Linked DNA regions of Homo sapiens: region 2 is linked to region 1. Evidence: promoter capture Hi-C in 16 types of primary human blood cells and fetal thymus (Javierre and others, 2016). All regions are on one chromosome and are shown on one strand. Each heading gives the region's core, a stretch centred on a gene start or on the middle of the fragment in contact. The rest is flanking DNA. Distances are from core to core; before and after follow the strand shown.

Evidence for each region. The method cuts DNA at HindIII sites, captures the fragments that hold promoters and counts their contacts. A CHiCAGO score of 5 or more calls a contact.
Region 2: the fragment with the promoter of FGF18 here is called in contact with the fragment with the promoter of CPEB4 in region 1 in 1 of 17 cell types (naive CD8 T cells); the score reaches 5.7 in naive CD8 T cells.

The regions. Positions count from the first base shown.
Region 1 is chr5:173,885,641-173,890,000 of GRCh38, forward strand. It overlaps CPEB4 (cytoplasmic polyadenylation element binding protein 4), which reads left to right and starts at 2,709. Exons shown (of 10, transcript NM_030627.4): 1 at 2,709-4,360. The coding sequence starts at 4,094. RefSeq lists an enhancer at 2,216-2,455. The HindIII fragment of the contact is 9,803 bases long and covers 1-4,360 here.
Region 2 is chr5:171,418,322-171,422,432 of GRCh38, forward strand. It overlaps FGF18 (fibroblast growth factor 18), which reads left to right and starts at 1,326. Exons shown (of 5, transcript NM_003862.3): 1 at 1,326-1,910; 2 at 2,086-2,122. The coding sequence starts at 1,879. RefSeq lists silencers at 1,163-1,272, 1,393-1,502, 1,643-1,692, 1,753-1,832. The HindIII fragment of the contact is 2,658 bases long and covers 1-2,548 here.

The DNA of each region.
Region 1 (4,360 bases), core at 1,459-3,958:
GTGTTACAAAGGAAGTGACATTTTTGATCACCTCTGATATGGTTTGGCTCTGTGTCCCCACCCAACTCTTATCTCAAATTGTAATCCTTATGTGTAGACAGAGGGAGGTGATTGGATCAAGGGGGCAGTTTCCCCATGCTGTTCTCCTGATAGTGAGTTCTCATGAGCTCTGATGGTTTTATAAGTGTTTGACAGTTCTTCTTTCACTCTGGTCTCTCCTGCCGCCTTGTGAAGAAAGTGCTTGCTTCCCCTTCGCCTTCCGGCATGATTGTAAGTTTCCTGAGGCTTCCCCAGTCACGTGGAACTGTGAGTCAATTAAACCTCTTTCCTTTATAAATTACCCAGTCTTGGGCATTTCTTTATAGCAGTGTGAAAATGGACTAATAAAACTTTTTAGGAGTCCAGCACTTCACATGTATCCCATGTAATTTACAAACTTAGCAAGAGAGGAAATATCATTCACATTTTATCTAGAAGGAACCAAGGGCTTATAGAGGTGATGCCCAGTTTTGCACAGCTAGGAAGCAGCAGAGCTGGGATTCAAATTCAGGGCTGTTTGGTTCCAAAGGTGCTCTTTTTTCCAAGTCATGGCTGCCATTTTAGCCACTGATAATTAGTAGCTCTGAGGGACCCTAAACCATCTTCTGGGCATGGAACATTCATTTGTTCATTCAATAAATGTGTTCTGAGTTTTGAGTCTGCTCTGTGCCAGACCCTCTTCTGGCCACTGGGGACATAAAGATAAATCAGACACAACCTCTGCCCTTAAGAAACTAACCCACTGACAACCAGCAGTAATTAAAAGAGAGCAATCTACAAGACATTAGAGAGAGGGCCAGTCAAGGAAACCATTCTGGCGGAAAAGACACCTGACGGAACCAGCTAAGTTTCCAGGCATGTCCAGTTGTAGGGAATAAACAGCAGGTAAGACCCAATCTCTATGCTCAAAGAATCCATAGTAGAGTTACAGAGACAAGACTCATGCTCATGGCACAATGAAAGAGAATAAAATCACCGATTGAAGGCCCTCAGGTGTTCTACACGGAAGTGATGGAGGATTGACAGACTGAGGCAGAAGTTGAGACCATTAGAGGAAGGCTATGGAAATGAAATGGAAGCCACCTTTGTTCATACTATTTTTCATTAATCTTGGTATCTTTTTTTTCCCTCTAGTTGTGCCAGTTACTTCTGGCTCTACCCTGATTTCTTTGTTCATTTTTCTTCCTGCTAAAGGAAAATACTCACTTATTTAACATATTTAAAGCTGTGCTGAGAGCAAAGCATTATCCTAAGCCCTGATGGTGGTCATAGCGTTGGGAATGTACAAAGATAAACAGGACATTAAAGCCCTTGAGTACCAAACATAATGAAAAGTCTGATATGTGAGCTCCAAACCAAATGGCAAAAGGAAGGAAATAATTAATTCAGACTTGGAAACAGGAGTGAGGGGTGGGGGGTGGGTGACGGGTGGAAGGGGTGGCAGTGGGTTGGGGGGCTGTCACTCAGGGAAGACTTCATTGTTGCTGGTTTGTTCATTCACGTTTTCAGGATTCATTCACTGATGTCTCCTATCTACAATGTCTGCTCCTGAAAGAGCCCACGGTCCAGCACAGGTCTGGAAGACATAAACCATCACAATATAGTGTGAGAAACAAGCACGAGAGGTACACAGGGCCGTGGACGCTTATAAGAGAGAATTCAGAAGATGCTGTTGGTGGCTTTTGAACTGATTCCTAGAAATAAATAGGAATTTACCAAAGGAGAAGAGTGGAAAGGACATGTAAAAAGGCATTGAGAGTGTGTTTGGAGGGGGAAGAGGCACTAAGATATACCACCCATTAGGTAGAAAGGCTTGAATACCAGACTAACAAGTTTGGCCTTTATCTTCGAAATAATGGGCAACCATAGAAGAAATCGGAGCATGTGAGGGTCAAGATAAAATTTTAGTTTTGGAATTTTCCCTCTGGTATTGCGTGTAAGGTGTACTAGATCGGGATGATACGGGGGCATAGCCACAGACGCCTCAGCTGCATCTCTGCACCTGGGAGACTGCACCAGATGCGAGCCTAGCAGAATGGGAGAGTGGGAGGTGCGGGTGAGCGAATGGAAGGTTAAGGGAGAGTCCCTCGTGAGGTCTACATTCTGGGCAAGGGCAAACGCAGTTCTAGGCACCGCACAGCTGCTGGCAAGACCCGCCTCCCCTTCCAGATCCCTCTGGGGCGGAGCTCGGGCCAGAGCACGTGATGCTTGGAGCACCACCTTTACTGTGGGCACCCTTCTCATTCATCCGCGGTTTCACGGGCCGCCACTTCGATCTCCAACACCTTGACCGTATGCCTTCGTGAGCGAGGAATCCGTTCTCCTTGACACGTCCCTATTGCTCCTCCTGCAAAGCCCAGTTAGGGAAGAGAAATATCAAAGGAGTCCCTTGCCCACACAAAAGATGGCGACCTGCTGCGCTCACTCTGGGTGGGGGAAGCGGGTTCCAGGCGCCGGGCCTCACTAGGCGAGGCGCAGACGGAAGAGGCGTCTCTGGAGGTAACTTTTCGACCTTCCTGGGAGTAGCTCTGAAGCGAGGGGGCGTGGCCTCGCCTGAGTTCTAACAGATGATTGGTCTTCCGGCAGGTAGGTGGGGAATGAGTGCTACCCCCACCCCTCCCTCTTCGAACCGGAAGTGTCTCTGGGTCTTTCCAGCTGGTTGTCATTTCACTCGGCTCGGTCCTGAGGAGAAGGACTCAGCCGCGGCTGCGGGACCCGGGCACCGGGAGGCGGTGGCGGCGGCGGCGGCGGCAGCAGCGGCGACAGCAGAGGAGGAAGAGGAGGAAGAAGGAAAGAAAAAGAAGAACCAGGAGGAGTCCTCAACAACGACAGCGGGGACTGCGGGACCAGGGTAAAGCGGCGACGGCGGCGACGGCCCAGCAACCGTGAGGAGAAACAAAAGCCTTCTAAATTATAGTTTAAAAAAAAATTCTGGGGGAAAAGAGAGAGAAAGCCGAGGGGGGAGGCCCTTCTCCTTTAAAATAACTACGGTAGTGGGTTTTTCCTTTTTTTCCTCTTTTTTCCCTCTCTGCGGAGAATCGAACTGAGGGAACTGAACAAACCGCCCCTGGGTCCCATGAGGGAAAAAAACCCCGGAGCCGCAGAGAGGGGAAGAGGCAGAAACCGCAGGACCTTCCAGGTCGCCCCCTCGGTCCCCGCACCCCCAGGCCGCCCGCTCACCCTCGTCGAGTCTCGCTAATCCCTCCTGATCGCGACCCCCGCAAGAGGGAGAAACGGGTGTTTCCAACCCCTTTCATGGGGGAGAGGAAGCCGCGGGGAGCCCAGGAACAGCGACCGCAGCAAGATCTGCACCCGGAGCCTCAGGAACAGCCCCAGAGGCCAAAACTGCACCCTGCGAAAGAGCAGAAAACAGGACCAGGAACAGCAGAAACCTCCCTGCAATCATCTTTCCATTAGTCAATGCTGATTTCCTCTCCCGAAACCAGGAATTCACTTCCCACCCCAGATAACCTAATATAATCTATATATATAAATATATAATATATAATGTTCTTAAATTATTCCTGATTTTTTTTTAACCAAGCTGCCAAGAAAAGAACGTATTCCCCTCTTAGTCCTATTCTAATTTTTATGTGAGTGAATCTAAACTGCTGAGGAAAACCATATGTGATTGTTAAATTATATATATCTATATTTTTACTCCGCGCAAGGCTTATTCTTCTACATCCATAGATGCTTGAGAAGCTCTGTTTTTGTCATTCATGTACATTTTCCTTTGGAAAAAGAAAGCGCCTATTTTACTAACCAAAGACTTGATTTTTACCCTCTTCATTTTTATTCCCTCCTAAAAATAAGCCCAATTGGATCCAAGTCAATGTTTTAAGAGATTTTTTTAAGAGTTGTTTTTTCTTTCAGAGACCAGAATTCCAAATCAGAACAATTTAAGGTGATAAGCTGCGATCTTTGAGCTAGCTATAAATAAGACATTTCAAGCAAGCAAGCAAACAACTTAAATTTGGGGTAGAGGAAAAAAAAGGCGTGAGACATCAGGTTGTCATTTTTTATTGTGAGATTCTGCTCCTAAAGATAATAAATGGGGGATTACGGGTTTGGAGTGCTAGTGCAAAGCAATACTGGGAATAAATCTGCTTTTCCAGTCAGATTCCATCCACATCTGCAGCCTCCACACCATCACCAAAATGCCACCCCCAGCCCTGCTGCTTTTATAAATAATAACACAGCTGCCAATGGCAGCAGTGCTGGGTCAGCTTGGCTTTTTCCTGCTCCAGCTACCCATAACATTCAGGATGAGATCTTGGGGTCAGAAAAAGCAAAAAGTCAGCAACAGGAACAGCAAGAC
Region 2 (4,111 bases), core at 76-2,575, 2.5 Mb before region 1:
AGGGAACTTAAAATAGCTTGCAAGGAGGCCTGATATTTGGAACAATTACTAATGTTTTATAGTCATGGCTTCAGCAAATAGCACTGTTCGACAGTCCTACCTCAGTTTATGCTCCAGTGGACCATCAACCATTGCCAACGCAAGGAGGCTTTAACCAAATAGTCCAGATTCCTGAGTTTTGCTTGAGCCTGTCCTCCAGCGTCTTTCTCACTGTGACCTATTTTCCTTAGCATCAGGCTCAAGCAGAGCTTGGCTGACACCAGCTCTAGACAGTGAGGCAGGTACGTGACAAGAACACCTACGTTTTGGGGTTGGTGGGAAGGACAGGAGTTATGCCTCTGGAAGGGGCAGAGGCGGTAAGAACCAGTGTCCTGAATGGGGCCCTGGTTAAAGGAACGAAGCTGCCTAGTATGCAAACGGAGGCAAGTCTTAGTCCGGTTTTGGGAGGAGGCCGGAAGAGGGCCTCAGCGTGGTCGCTGACCAGAGTCCTGCTGGCTGCTCCCCGGCGTGCAGCCGTCCGTGCTGGGGTTGCAGTGACGTCTCGGGGCCGCTTGGTGGTAGCCGTGTGTTTCCAAAGCTGGCTCGCCTACGGGAGAGTCCAGCTGGGATCCCGTGAACCGACCCCAGAGCCCCGGAGGGGGCGAGGGGTGGGAAGGAGAGATGCCCGGGAGCCCCCTTCGCAGCGGCAGGGACGTAAGAAGAGGACGGGGGCTCACTTAAGTGGGTAGCCAGTCAAGAGGGTGGCTGGGAAACTCCACGATCGCAGGGCGGGTAAAAGCGACCCCCATTCAGTGGAGCCGCCCCGGGGCTGGGTTTGACCCGCCCCTCTCGGCTCTCCACTAGAGCGCTGGTGAGTGAGTGCGAGTAGCGAATGTGGGCAGGTGAGGACGTTCCGTACCTAACTGCGTTCTTGGGGAGCATCGCCTGCCCAATTTGGGCAACGTTTGCGCGGAGGAGCGGTCACTGCGCTCGGGCGCAGAGCTCCGACGGCTTCCAGCGCTCACCAGCTTCAGTCTCGCGGGTCCTGCCCCTTTGGAGCTGCCGGTCCCGTCTCCGAGAGTCTGAGCGCCTCCCCTCCAACCCCGAGCCGCCAGGAGAAGGAGGAGGAGGCAGCGAGAGGCCGCGGCAGGCAGGCGAGCAGGCAGGGCCGCCTTTGATGTGGGCTGGGCGCACCCAGGCGAGCTGAGCGCCCGTCCGGCCGCGCCCCGAGGGGGGAGCCCCCAGGCCCCGCATCCTCATTGTGCCGGCTCGGGCCCGGGCCCGCCCCCGGCCCCCCGCCCCCTCGCCGCCCGCGCGTAGAAAACGCCCCGGCCGCCGCCAGTGGTGGGAGGCGGCGATGCGCACGGCCGGAGAGACGCGGAGGAGGAGACATGAGCCGGCGGGCGCCCAGACGGAGCGGCCGTGACGCTTTCGCGCTGCAGCCGCGCGCCCCGACCCCGGAGCGCTGACCCCTGGCCCCACGCAGCTCCGCGCCCGGGCCGGAGAGCGCAACTCGGCTTCCAGACCCGCCGCGCATGCTGTCCCCGGACTGAGCCGGGCAGCCAGCCTCCCACGGACGCCCGGACGGCCGGCCGGCCAGCAGTGAGCGAGCTTCCCCGCACCGGCCAGGCGCCTCCTGCACAGCGGCTGCCGCCCCGCAGCCCCTGCGCCAGCCCGGAGGGCGCAGCGCTCGGGAGGAGCCGCGCGGGGCGCTGATGCCGCAGGGCGCGCCGCGGAGCGCCCCGGAGCAGCAGAGTCTGCAGCAGCAGCAGCCGGCGAGGAGGGAGCAGCAGCAGCGGCGGCGGCGGCGGCGGCGGCGGCGGAGGCGCCCGGTCCCGGCCGCGCGGAGCGGACATGTGCAGGCTGGGCTAGGAGCCGCCGCCTCCCTCCCGCCCAGCGATGTATTCAGCGCCCTCCGCCTGCACTTGCCTGTAAGCGCCCGCGCGCGGGGCTGCCCACCTTGCCTGGCTGTCTGTCCGTATGCCTGTGCCCTGTACCTCTGTCTGCCCGCCCGTCGGTTCACCTGACTCTTCGACTGCGTGTCTGTCTGTCCGTGCGCCCCCTTCCTCAGGTCCCACTGACCGCTTCTCCATCTGTTTCCCGCAGGTGTTTACACTTCCTGCTGCTGTGCTTCCAGGTACAGGTACGTGGGCTCCTGACTTTGACCTCCTCCCGCCCCTGCCTCGCGGTACACGCCGACCCCCCTTCCCCGGCCGCGCCCCCTCCCTGTGCCCCACCCCTCCTGGGCGCTGAGCCCAGTGCACCTGTTCCCAGGGCGCGGAAGGGCGGCTCCGCGTGCGCCCTGCGCCGGCGGGGAACCGGCCAAGGGCAAGGGGCTCTGCCGCGGGGCCCGAGGAGGCGCTGGCTGTCGCGGCCACTGTCGGCCTCGGCTGGGAGGAGATCCCGCAGAGCCGGCGGGCTCAGCCGCAACAATATACCCAGCTCTAAGACCCCTGCCCGCAGCCAGCGAGGGGTAGGACCTAGGGATTTTCTCTGCCAACCTTCCCTTAACATCGCCGCTTCCAAACAAAAAGACTTTCAGCCGAGTGGATTTCGAGTCCAGGGAGAAAGCTTCAGTTGTAAATTACTCTGTGGTTTTGAAGGCGCTTGCAGCACTGAGACACACACACAGACACACACACATGCCCGGGACGAGGGGAAGCTCGAGGGCGCCTAGGCCGAGTGGCCGCTGCCCGCGAGGCCGCTCCCGGATGGGCCGCGCTCCGCACTCCCTCGCCTAAGGTGGTGCAGCCCTCGTTGGTTCCCCGCCTGCTCCCGGTTCGCTCGCTCTCCGTGAATCAGAAGAGGGCTTGGCGCTCGGCCTGGAAAGCACTTGCTAAAATCTGATCTGTTACTTCAGCAGCTTTCAGACTCGGGAAGGTCTTGGCACGCAGACAGTTGGAACGCTCTGGCTTCCAAAGCCGTAGAAATGAAGGAAAAAGGGTTGGGGGGAGGGAGAGAGAAGAGCGAAAAAGGGAGCCGACTTCAGCCCCGATTAGAACCAGACCAGGGCTGCCTCTGCATGGTGGGGGTCGGGGGGCGGCGGGCAAAGGGAATAGGAAGCGTCAGCTCCCCAAGCCCCCACCCACCTAGTGCTGCAAGGGGCCAGGCCAGGAGGAACTGGACACAGGTCAAAAGAGGGTTGTCTGACCCTTCCCCCTCGGTGGAAGGCAGGTGGCTTTCCGGGATTAGAGAAGATTCTTAGACCTTAGCCTTCTGGATTGTGGAGATCCCCAGAGCTAGCCTTGAGCACAGGAAATTGGTGGTTCTCCCGGTTTTCTGGCTCAAGGAGTGTTGTGTGCCTTGAGCACTGCGCGACTCAACAGCCACTCGCAGTGTTTGGCGGTGGTGGGCCTGCTATCTTCCTTCCACGCCCAGGAGAGGGTTGTTACCCTCCTGATAGGCACTGAGCTGGGGGCATCCATTGGGGCTTGGGGATGGAAGGGTGGACGGACTGATGGGTTCTTTCCTCCTGTTGGCCAGGCTGGGGTCCCCAGTGACTCCTTGAATCAATATAACTGGAGTCAGTAACTTAAGACTGGCTGTTTGCCAAAGCAGATGTGACCTGTGTGGTGATGGGGGTGGGGGTGGGGAACGGCTGGTGTCAAAGAGGGAGGCCAGTGCCAGGCATGGCCTGCCTGGTCTGCAGCTGAGTCCCCAAGCAGAGGGCAGGCCCTGGGGTCACTCCAGGGGGTCTGCTTGTCTGACCTGGGCAAGAGCTCTTTTCCAGAGTGCTGTGCCTGGGGGCAGGAGGGATGAAATGGGCAAGGAGTAGCAGGGAGGCCTGCGGATGTGTGGCTCAAGCCTCTGGATGCCTGCTGCTGTTGGTTCTTCTTGAAGTAGGGCCCAGGAGGGGCTGCTGTGTGGTCTTTGTGTTCTCCGTGGGAGCTGGAGGGAGGGAGTGTGGACTCTGCATCCCACCTCCACCTCCTGGCCAGAGCTAGAGCCAGCATCTTGGGAAAGAGCTGGGTGGTCTGCCCTGGTTAGGTCAAGAGGCAGCCTTCAAGCAGGTGAGGGATCCTCCTCTCCCCACCACCTCCACCTTCCCCCTTGTCCCCACCGGCCTTTCTGCATCCAAAGTGCCATAAGACTGATGTTTTTAACCCATGGTCCATGTACCCTTGGAGTGTCA